Regions from separate parts of the Homo sapiens genome. Here region 2 is linked to region 1. Evidence: promoter capture Hi-C in 16 types of primary human blood cells and fetal thymus (Javierre and others, 2016). All regions are on one chromosome and are shown on one strand. Each heading gives the region's core, a stretch centred on a gene start or on the middle of the fragment in contact. The rest is flanking DNA. Distances are from core to core; before and after follow the strand shown. Region 1 holds the start of KCTD18 (potassium channel tetramerization domain containing 18). Region 2 holds the start of CYP20A1 (cytochrome P450 family 20 subfamily A member 1).

The links. Contacts are between HindIII fragments. The CHiCAGO score rates a contact against its expected background, and 5 or more counts as called.
Region 2: a contact is called between the fragment with the promoter of CYP20A1 here and the fragment with the promoter of KCTD18 in region 1, in 2 of 17 cell types (naive B cells and total B cells). The highest score is 7.2, in naive B cells.

The regions. Positions count from the first base shown.
Region 1 is chr2:200,506,255-200,512,284 of GRCh38, forward strand. KCTD18 (potassium channel tetramerization domain containing 18) reads right to left here and starts at 3,814. Exons shown (of 7, transcript NM_152387.4): 1 at 3,374-3,814; 2 at 603-837. The coding sequence starts at 762. RefSeq lists a silencer at 3,587-4,046. The HindIII fragment of the contact is 2,465 bases long and covers 1,816-4,280 here.
Region 2 is chr2:203,236,291-203,242,320 of GRCh38, forward strand. It overlaps CYP20A1 (cytochrome P450 family 20 subfamily A member 1), which reads left to right and starts at 2,728. Exons shown (of 13, transcript NM_177538.3): 1 at 2,728-2,844. The coding sequence starts at 2,773. RefSeq lists enhancers at 2,429-2,478, 2,764-3,335, 3,159-3,448 and a silencer at 2,549-2,758. The HindIII fragment of the contact is 4,599 bases long and covers 1,611-6,030 here.

The sequences.
Region 1 (6,030 bases), core at 2,564-5,063:
TACCAGAGCACTGGAAGCAGAGAGCAGCCCCAGAACCCTACCTGTGTGATTTACAGTTCTGAAACCCAGTTTTCAGTCCGCTGCCCCTTTGCCTCTGACGGTATCACTGCACAGACTTTTTCTCAGCCGTGCACATTGGACACACAGCAAGACTACACAGCTAGGCTAGGTGGCGAGCCCAACACTAATTCTACAATGACGATGGCTGCTCTGTTAGCAATAAGGAGGGCAGCTGCTTTCTCCAGACAAAACATTTTCCAATTTGAAGAACACAGAGAGAAGCAAATATATTTAATCAGCATCAATATCATCACCCAAAGCTGCATGAAAGTAACAAGTTTCAAAATACAGTTAATCCCCATAATTAGGTTATGACCAGCCTTTATGAACTCTTACTTCTTTGTCAACTTTTAACATTATCACAGATTTTCAGAAGTAGTATTTAATTTCTCCACGTACTTAATGAATCTCCATAGAGTCCTAATGATCTCAGTAATTAGTATAGTCATCTAGTACATTTCGCTGTAATTAAGAAAATCAAAGGGAACTTAAACTGGTGTTAATAAATATTCAGATCATGCTTTCAGACTTTAGACATTTACCTGACTCATCTGTTTTTAGAGGAAAGCGACCACTGAACATAGATGCCAACATGGAGTCCTTGAAGCGGCACAAGGACTCCCGCCGGGCTGTGTAAATACAGCCACCCACGTTCAGTCGGAGAACATCTAGCACCTCTTCTTCTGCCTTGTGGCCTTCCATTTCTCCCCCAGGCACCTGAATTTTTGCCGCCCAACACTTTCAGAAACTTCAAAACAATGATGTCTTGGTCTCCCTCTGTAAAACAAAGGACAGTCATCCCCGCCATTTCCAACAAGACACTAAATAGATAATATAATAAATATACTTTAACATGACTGAAAATAAATTCCTCAGTACTGGCATTATTGAATTGAAGGATTTTATATAATATAAGAGAATTTCGAGATATGCTAAGAAGTTGGAAAATGTTGGCTAAGAGGATTTGTAAAAGATAATAAACGACTAACAACCCAATCATTGCTGTTGAAATGACTGTTTAAACATGGTAATGCACTCTCTGTCACACAGCAAACAAAGGAGAGGCCTGCTTATGATCTTCAGTATTCACATATCTTTTTAACCATGATAAGTCTGAGGGAGCCTCTAGACTGCAGAGATCAGTGGACAGCATGGAATTGAGCTGCTAGGCTCTTCCCCTCACCAGCTCTAGGATCTTGGGCAAATTACTTATCTTCCTCTTCCATAAAATGGAGGCAGTGATGATGCCCAGCTCAAAGGACTATAAGAGGAATAATTAAAAGAATATATAAAACAGCAAAAGAGCAGAATCTAGCTCATGGTAACTATTCAATAAATTATAAATATTATGCATAATGATATAAATTTAACCATAAGGTGTCTACTGAGGGACTTGATATTGACTCTGGAAATGTAAGGAAATAAAGGAGCAGGAATTATTAACAATGATAACTATAATTCTTAAGTTAGGTAACTAAGGAATATATAATTTATCAACTGAGATTATAATTCTTCTTTTAATTTTTTTAAATTTTTAAAAAATGAGACAGGGTCTCGCTGTGTTGCCCAGGCTAGTCTTGAACTCCTGGGCTCAAGCAATCCTCCTGTCTTGGCCTTCCGAAGTGCTGAGTATACAGGCATGAGCCACCACGCCCAGCCTGAGATCAGAATTCTATGTAGACCAGTAGCCAGGCCAGTCTAGAACTACAAATAACACCTCCAAATCATCCAGCTTCTTCACTGTGAAATGGATGAAGCTTTAGGGAAGTTTTGGGGGGTTTTTGTTTGTTTGCTTGTTTGTTTTTTGAGATGGAGTCTCGCTCTGTAGCCCAGGGTGGAGTACAGTGGCGCCATCTCGGCTCACTCCCGGGTTCAAGCAATTCTCCTGCCTCAGCCTCCTGAGTAGCTGGGACCACAGGTATACACCATCATGCCGGGCTAATTCTTGTAATTTTAGTAGAGACGGCGTTTCACCATATTGGGCAGTCTGGTCTCCAACTCCTGACCTCAGGTGATCCACCCACCTCGGCCTCCCAAAGTGCTGAGATTACAGGCGTGAGCCACTGCACCAGGCCCAGGGAAGGTTTAAGGGTTGGATTTTTTTAATCCATTCTGGAGATCACAGAACCACAAGTGACACTGTGGTGTTTTCCCACCTAAAACAATACTGTGATGAAAAAGGTACTCCCAATTATTGAGAATCTGCAGTATCCACACATTTCATAGCAAGTTGAAAATGGCTGCCAAAAGGCTCAACTACATCCATGTCAATTCACTTTTACTCAGTGAACAACTAAGATCGTTTTGTAGATGCCAGCTAGTCTCCAATAAAATGGAAGGAGACCATTAAAATCTGAGGAAGACCATGTGTGTAGAATACGGTCAGCAACAGAAACCATTATGGGCCAAAGGTCCAGCCTTCCAAAACCACTTATGGATGTGACATCTCGCACTGCCTAGAAGTCCTGGGAGCAGCACTCCAAAGATCCATGTGTGAGAGCCACCTCTGAGGCATGGGATGGAACTTGTTCCCTCTGCCTCATTACTGGCTCCCTGGAATCCTATCTATTCTTCAAGGCCTTCAGCAAACCTAATTTCTTGCATGACCGTCCCACGTATCCTTCTGCCCCCCAAGTTAGAATCCTTGCACAATTCTACAAATATACTGTGTGTCTGTCCACTTTTTACCCCACTTGTTTAATCCCTACTTTTTGGTCTGTAGGCCAAGGAAGCCAGGGCCTGTGTCACTCTTAATAACTCCCATTTACTGAATGCTTATTATGTGCCAGCCATTGTAAGAGACACTTGACACACTTTACCTAATTCACACAAAAACTCTATTGGATGGGAATTACTGTCCCTGTTGACAGATGAGGCCATTGGGGTAAAAAAAAAGAGTGATGTGTACAGGGGCCACACAAGGACTGACTGCTAGTAGGTTGTGGAGCCAGCCCCAATCCAGAACGGCAGGACGAACCCCAAGTTCTTCCTGCTTCACCCCACACCGCCTCCTCCAGCACTGTTTCACCCCTATGGATCCTGACCCAGCCCTTTCACTCTCTAAGCATCTGTCCATCTCAAGACTTGGCTACGATAACACAGCAGCACCCCGATCCCGAGGATTTAAGAGCTACTCCTCCTACCCCAACCCCAGGCAGTCTCTCCTAAGGATAGGAACATCATCATTCCAAGGCCACACCAGGGGGGCACTCCGCAGGCCCCATCCTCAAAAGCACCCAGTTAGGCTCCCTGCTATGTGGAAAGTGTCCAGCCCTCGGGGACAATGTCCCCCAGAGTGCATTCCTATGATCACCTGCATCAAAACCATCAGGGACGCTTGGGAAAACGAAGACACTCCGGCCACAGCACACAGTTCCTCAGAAAGTCTGAGGAGGGGTCGGGATCTGCCCGCGAACCCCACTTTGAAAAACATCGCTCAAGGGGCTCACACTCCTCTTCCGAAGCGGGAAGAGCCGGGAGGAGCTGGGGAGCCAGAAAGCCCCGCCACGGTCTTCCGCGGCCTGGAGACCCCAAATCGGCCCGAAGCCCGAGCCTGCAGCCCGGGGCGCGCGCGTTACCAGCGCGGCCCGTGCCCTTCCTCAGGGCGCCCCGCCGCCTTCCGGGCCCGCGGCCCATCCCGCGCCCGGCTCTTCCGCACCGGGGGGGTGGGGCGGGTCGGCAGCTTCCCAGACTGACCTGCGGCCCGCCAGACCCTCGGCGCGGCCGCCGGACGCCGCGGGGCGGACGCGGAAGTGAACGCCTTCTCAGCTGCTCGGCAACTCGGGAGCAGAGCGGCCCCAGCGGCGCCCCCGTGCGGCCCGGCTCTGAGGCAGCGGCTCAGGGAGGGAGGGAGGCCACGTCCCGGGCACGCCACGCCACGCCACGCCCCGCCCCCAGATTCGTCTCGCCCCAGTGGGCCGCCTCGGAGTCGGGTGGGTCTTCCATCCCGGAGGTAAGGGAAACACACGGTAGAGAAGGCCAGGGCTGAACCCCAAGGGACGGTCTTGTGTGTTCAGAGGCTGGTTTTACAGGTGAAGAGAAGAAACAGCCGCAGAAGTTGCGATTGTCCAAGGTCACTTAATAAGTGGCAAGAATTAGGATGTTAAGTGTTCTCACCCCCAGGTCAGTGCCCATCCCTCCAAACAGGGCTGCTCAGTGCCAACGTGTGTTAATATATTGCACTTGGATAAGTCTATCTGGATAGTGTCTGCAGCTTACAAAGCTTTTTCACACACAGCATTCTTGTTTAGTCTGTGTGACAGTGATATAAAGGGTGATATTTATTTCCCATTATAGCAAGGAAAATTGAGGCGAGAGCAAACATTTATTCAACACTTTTGTACACCTGACACTGTGCTAAGTGCTTTGCATGCACTACTTAATTTCCTGTTAACGATAACCCTAAAACAGTTCTTCCAGTTTCTAGCACCATCTTACCTTGTGCAAGGTACTGTGCTAGATATTTCAAGAGAAATATAACAGTCCTGTTTTCAAGGTGCTTCCCCAAAATCAAAAATATTTGGTTCCAAATTTCCCTGACTGGCTCTTAGAAGAGAATAAGCCAAAGAGAGGTAAGTCAACCTATCCCCTTAGATATTAACAGTCTTAGGAGAGAGGGAAGGTTTGTTCAACCTGTAATTATTAAGCACTAGCTATGGAGCAAGCACTGAGAGTAAAGGACTGGAAGAGACAAATAATGGGCGTTCAACCTTACTTTCCAGTACAACATGCAGAAAACTTGTTCTGTAAATATTTTAGGCTTTGTGGGCCATGCACAACTACTCAACTCAGCAGTTGTAGTCTAAAAGAAGGCATAGGCAAAACCTGAACAAATGAGCATTGCTAGTTCCAACTTTATGGACACTGAAATTCCAATTTCACATAATTTTCATGTGTCAAAAAATATTCTTTTAAAAATGCAGCTTTTTCAAACACTTAAATATGTACAAGCCATTCTTAGATCATGGGCCAGACAAAAACAAATGGTGGTCCATGGGCCATAGTTTGCCTGCCCTTGTTCAAGTGGGAGAAACAGACACTAAGCAAAGTGGTGACAGAGAGTGATAACTAGGTGCGAGGAAATGAGTGGACATTTAAGTTGAGGGCTAGGAGTCAGAATGAGTCCACCTTCTGCAGAGATGGAGGAAGGGTATTTTAGGAAGAAGGGAGAGCAAGTCGGAAGCCCCTCAGGCAGGAAAGGACTCAGCAATTTGTAGGAAGAGAAAGGCCACTAGTATGTCTGAGCCTTGGTGGGCATCAGGACAAAGGGGAAGATGAGATGGGATGAGGTTGAAGAGAGAGGCAAGAGCCCAGACTCTAAAGTATTGTGTGGCCATGGTAGAAATTTAATTTGACTGTAAGCATAATGAGAAGCTATTGAAAGGTTTTAAGCAGGGAAGTGACACAATTGATTTACTATTAAAAAAAAATAATCACTGCAGCTACTGAGATGAGAATGGATTGGAAAGGTGTGAGATGGAAGTAGATGACTATTGCAATAATCCAGGGGAGAAATGTCTTAGTTCCTCCTTGAGTAGTGTTGGCAATAAAGAGAAGTGGATGGATGCAAGAGGGGTACTCAGGAGATAGACATGACATAAAATTTGTTGGTGGATCAAATACAATGTGTTAATATGGATCCCCTGAGAAGCAAACAATATTATCAGATTAGACATGTGAGAGATTTATTGAAGGGAACACCTGTGAGGTAATAACAGGGAAGCATCTGAGGGGAATTAGGAAAGACATTAGACAGTTTCAACCCTTGTGGAGAACAGGAAAGGAAAAGTAGGAAAAGTTGTAGATATGATACAGTTCTGAGAAAGTTTCAGCACAGCCAGTGGAAAGCCTTCAAGCCAAAGTCCCCCATATCAGAAGAGTTCTGTGTCTCCCAGGAATGGGCCTGCCTTAAATCCCTCTGCTCAGTCACTGGCTGGGAGCAGTCAGTGGGCAGTGCAGCCTGGTGATAAA
Region 2 (6,030 bases), core at 1,478-3,977, 2.7 Mb after region 1:
GGCGCATGCCACCACACCCAGCTAATTTTTGTAATTTTAGTAGAGGCGGGGTTTCCCCATGTTGACCAGGCTGATCTTGAAGTCCTGACCTCAAGTGATCTGACCGCCTCCGCCTCCCAAAGTGCTGGGAATACAGGTGGAGCCACCGTACCTGGCCAAGTTTGTGTGTTTTTAAAAAAAGTCTTATAGTTATCACATCACTATTATATTTACATTCCTTTTCATACACTTAAAAGAGAGCTGTAACAATTTCAAAACGTGAATATTTATAATATGACAGAAATTTAATCCTTTAAAGTCAAGATAAAAATTTTAGATGTCAATACAAAAAATGTGTGAAAAGATATATATGTGTGTATGTGTATATATATATTATATATATATTATTTATATATGCTTTTAGGGAGTATCTGGGCAAAACGTTTTAGGAACACAGGAAGAGGAGGTAGATGTCTAGTTTAGAGACTCACACTATAAAATATGGTGCCCTGACAATTTCTGGAATTTTTGTCTCTTTTTTACAGCCCTCAAAGTTCAGAGAGTCTCAGGATGTAGGTCAATTTAGGACTAAAAGAGAATTCTAGATATCTTGAAGGATTGGTACCTAAGATTACGGTACCTAAGATTACGGTTATATGGCTACCTTATGCAGTTAAAACTCTTATGTTTGGCCGGGCGGGGTGGTTCACGCTTGTAATCTCAGCACTTTGGGAGGCCCAGAGGGGCGAATCACGAGGTCAGGAGTTAAAGACCAGCCTGGCCAACATGGTGAAACCCATCTCTACTAAAAATACAAAAATTAGCTGGGCATGGTGGCGCGTGCCTGTAATCCCAGCTACTCGGGAGGGTGAGGCAGGAGAATTGCTTGAACCTGGGAGGCGGAGGTTGCAGTGAGCCGAGATCCCGTCACTGCACTCTAGCCTGGGCTACAGAGGGAGACTACGTCTCAAAAACAAACAAACAAAACAAACAAACAAAAAACTCTTACATTTACTGTTTTGAAAACCTATTGGGAACATCAGTTTGACAAGAAATATCTTTAAAATTCTGAACAAGAGACTTAAAAATGAACTTTGAACATACGACAGTTTAAAGCACATTTATATGCAGAGAAAGACTTAAAAATACAATTTCTGCCAAGTGAAATATTAAACAGCATGTTTCATTATATTTGCTATAGATGCCAAAAGAGTTGCCATTTTCAATGAGGTATGTTTCCTGCTTATGTAACAGTCATTTATCATAGAAGCTGTAAAATGCAATCTGGAATTTCTCTTGCCAAATTGCTGCCTGTTCTTGACATTTTATATTATTAAAGCTATAAAATCTATAAATACTTTTAGCACACTTTCACTAAAAGCAGCACTAGTAAGTAGCAGGCCTTGTCTTGTATTTCAGTAGCCACGTCAAAACTTCTGAGCCAGGCGAAATAGAAAGAGGGGTCCTAGGGTATTTTATGCCCAGGGCAACAAACGCCAAATGCTGACGTAGATAGCACTTATTCGGTTTTGCCAGGAGCTGTGCTAAGTGATTTTCATAAAATATGTAATTTAACCTACAGGCAACTCCATGTGGTATTATTTTCACTTTTTTACATAGAAGGAAATGGAAGCTTAGAAAACTGAAGCAATTTACCGAAAGTCAGAGTTAACAGAGCAAGGAAACCTGAACAGTGTGCAGCCTCCGCTCACCAGAAAGTGTCAAAGAATCACATTTACTAGTACTTCAGACAGAAATTCTGCGAAACAAGGCGTATCTACTCTTGTTTTACTCCCAGACACTTCCCTGTCCCGCTTAGATCAGTGGTGGTTTTCACTCAAATTTAAGTGTGTAACAGTGTCCCCGGGAGGGCTCTGTTCAAACAGATTGTTGTACGCGCCCCCTACCCCTGCCCACCCCGAGTGTTTGATTCAGTAGGTCTAGTTTGGGATCGAGAATCTTTTTATTTTGTTTTCCTTTTGTTTTGTTTTGTTTTGTTTTTGAGACAGGGTCTCGCCCTGTCGCCCAGGCTGGAGTGCAGTCGTGCCATCTCGGCTCACTGTAGCCTCTGCCTCCCCGGCTAAAGTGATCCTCCAGCCTCAGCCTCCGGAGCAGCTGGGGCCACAGGCAAGCGCCACCACTGTAGGCTAATTTTTTTTTTTTTTTTTTTTTTTTTTTTGTAGAGACTGGGGTCTCACTATGTTGCCCACGCTGGTCTCAAACTCCTGGGCTCAAGCGATCCTCCCGCTTCAGCCTCCCAAGGTGCTGGGATTACAGGTGGAGCCACCGCGCCCGGCATCGATAATCTGAATCTCTAACGAGCTCCCGGGCGACGTTGATGCAGCTGGTACCGGGACCACTCTTCGAAAATCATCGGTTTAGAGGTTTTAATTCTGAATCCATTGCGAAAACTGTTGGGCGGACAGAGCACTACTAACTCCTAACTTTTCTCAGAAAGCTGGGCTCTGCTTTCGCCAGCAACCCGGTCCGAAGTCGCGGGCATATTCTGTCTGAAATCGTGTGCACCGAAATCCCCGCCTTGCGGTGGAGGCTGGCGCTAGGCGGCCTCAGCCTCGGCCTGCTGCGCTCAGGAACCCGCGCCCCGGCTCCTCGGCGATCCATTGCTCTTTCCTCTGGCGCCGGCCGCAGGCCTCGGTCACGCCCCCAGCGGCCCGTTGGTTTCCGGGTCCCGCGGGGTGCCCCCGCCCACACGCTATGCCTTAAATTGGGCCAGGCTGAGGCGCTGCTGCTGGAGCGGCCGATCCGAGACGTGGCTCCCTGGGCGGCAGAACCATGTTGGACTTCGCGATCTTCGCCGTTACCTTCTTGCTGGCGTTGGTGGGAGCCGTGCTCTACCTCTATCCGGTGAGCGCCGTCTTGGCTCTCTGGGGCCCCGGGCGCCGCCCCAGTCTCTCTGTCGCCGGCATCCAGGCCAACCTGCCCGCTGCGGGCCGCAGGGGGCGGGCCTGAGAGGAGGGTTCGGGTTCGCTCCAGAGCTTCAGCGCGGGGACCGCACCCGGAGTCACGTGACGCCCCTCCCGGCAAGCTCTGAGAGCGACGTGGGCTGCGTCGCTACCCCTCAGGCGCCGGGCCAGGCGGGCGTAGAGCTGCTGAGGAAAAGCCCGCGCCCCCGCAGGCCGGTCTCACCTTGCCAGGCACCCCGCGCCACTCTCCAAGGCGGCTCTCAAGTACTTTGGGCAGCTTTTTGGCCATAACTCGCCAAACCCAAATTTCATTTCCCAGTGTGTCAGGACGAGACTCCTGGGCGCGCCACTCCTTTCTCCTTTCTTGAGGATTCTCCCAGCACTTGTGTATTCCTCTTTTCCATCTGTCCATCGATCTATCCTGACTGGAATCCAAAGTGCTCGAGGTCCAGGTCTTGCTCCTCTTAGGGGCTCCAGGCAAATGCTTCTTTGGGGAGAGCGCCGCGCTGCGGGTTCGGGTGCGAGGTTTCCTCTGCCGCTGACGCCTCTGCGAGCCTCCGGTCCTCCTCTCTCCACTTGCCTCCGTCAGCGAGAGAGGGAGGGTCTGAAAACAAAAGTGTTGATGACTGAGGACCGTCTTTAAAACCTGTTCTACACACTTTGGGAGGCTGAGGCGGGCGGATCACGAGGTCAGGATATCGAGACCATCCTGGCCAACATGGTGACACACCGTCTCTACTAAAAATACAAACATTAGCTGGCTGTGGTGGCGGGCGCCTGTAATCCCAGCTACTCAGGAGGCTGAGGCAGGAGAATCGCTTGAACCTGGGAGGCGGAGCTTGCAGTGAGCCAAGATCGCACCACTGCACTGCAGCCTGGCGACAGAGCCAGACTCTTATCTCAAAACAAACAAACAAACAAACAAAAAACACCTGTTCTACAAAGCAAGGTGGTGGTTTTACAGTGAAAGTTGAAAAGTAGCTGAACTGCTGGAATTGACCATACACCTTCTTAAATGTTCTTTTCCGAGCAGGTAAATGGATTAGACTAGAATCTTGCAACTACACAATCAGGGACTTCCTGAAATCTTATTTTCTGAGAAACTAAACAATTTTAGTGGTTCTTGAATTTTTGGTGATTTTAAAATGATACTCTTCTTTGATCAGCTCATAGAAGCACACTGTTTATTCTTAGCACTAGCTATGTGCCAGATATGGTTCCACGTGCTGGGAATCCAGCCGTGAAACAAACCGGACAGAAAATTCCTGACTCTTGGAATTTATTTCCTAGAGAAGGGGAACAGACAATAGAAACAAATAACATAGGATTGTGGGTAGAAATAAAGTTGGGGATAGGTAGATTGTTATTTTAAAGTAGGATGGCCAGGAGATACGGAGACATTTGAGTAGAAACGCGAAGAAGGTGAAGGTGCAAGCCATTCTGAGAAAGAGCATTCTGGGTCGAGGGAGCAGCAAATGCAAACCTTCAGAGGGAGACACGCCTGGTGTGTTCCTGGAAAGCAAGGGGACCAGTGTGGTTAGAGTGTAGTAAATGAGGAAGATACCAGAGGAGAGAAAGTCAGAAAGATGGGAGTGAAGGACAAATTTTAAATGACTTGTAAGGCTTTTTTAATGGACTTTTGCTGTGTGCCACTGGAGGATTTCAGCAGATGAATGCCATTTGAAATTGGATAGAATTCAAATTTAATTTTATTAGATAAATTTTAAAAGAATCATTGTGGTTGCTAAGTCATGAATTGACATGGGTCTCCAGGTAAGGATGGAAGCAAGCCAAGTAATTAGGAGGATATTATCATTTCAGCTTGGATCATGGTAGTAGTGGCACAGATAATGAGAACTAGTCAATTGTGAAGATAGTGCCAATGGGATTTCCCAGTGGATTGGATGTGAAATGTGAAAGAGAGGCATCAAGGAAAACACCAGTTATTTTTAGCCTGGTATCTGGAAGGATAGATTAATTCCAGGGAAGATCAGGGGTTTTGCTGGTGGTGGTTGTTCTTTAGTTTTGTTTTGGTGGGAGGTAGTGGGGATTTATAGAGATTAGGAGTTGGTTTTGGGTGGGCTAGGTTTGAGATGCCTGTTAGACATTCAAGTGGAGATGTTGAGGAGTAACTGAATATATGTCTTGAGTTTATGGGAAAAGTCCAGGCTGAAGATACACATTTGGGAGCTATCAATGTATAGATGGTATTTAAAGCGAGGAGAACTGGTTGCTATCTCCCAGACAATTTAGATACAGGAGAGAAGAGGTCCCAGGGACCATTCCCTGGATTCTCCAATGTTAATGGTTGAGGAGAGAAAGAAGAGCCAGCAAAGGAGACTGAGAAGGAGCAGCCACACAAATAGAAGGAAGCCAGATGTTTTAAGCAGAAGAGGATAATCAGCTAAGTCAAATGCTGCAGATATTTTAAGTTAAGGCCTAATAATTTGATAACATTGGTAATCTTTATTTTTTGTTTTGTTTCATTTAAGAGACAGAGTCTCACTCTTGCCCAGGCTACAGTGCAGTGGTACCATCATAGCTCATTGTAACCTCAAACTCCTGGCCCCAGGCGATCCTCGCACCTTAGCCTCTCAAGTTGCTGGGACTACATGCTCATGCCACCACACCTGGCTAATTTTTAAATTTTTTATTTTTTATTTTTTGATACAAAGTCTCGCTCTGTCGCCCAGGCTGGAGTGCAGTGGCATGATCTCTGCTCACTGCAGCCTCTGCCTCCCAGGTTCAAGCGATTCTTCTGCCTCAGCCTCCCAAGTAGCTGGGACTGCAGGCACACATCACCACACACAGCTAATTTTTTTATTTTTAGTAGAGACAAGATTTCACCGTGTTGGCCAGGCTGGTTTCGAACTCCTGACCTCAAGTGATCTGCCCACCTTGGCCTCCCAAAGCACTGGGATTACAGGCATGAGCCACCGTGCCCAACCTAATTTTTTAATTTTTTAATTTTTTATAGAAATGGGGTCCTGCTTTGTTGCCCAGGCTGGTCTCGAACTTCTGGGCTGAAGTGATCCTCCTGCCTCAGCCTTCCAAAGATCTGGGATTACAGGCATGAGCCACCGCAACATTTGTAATCTTAAGAAGAGCGGTTTCAGTGTAATTGGGG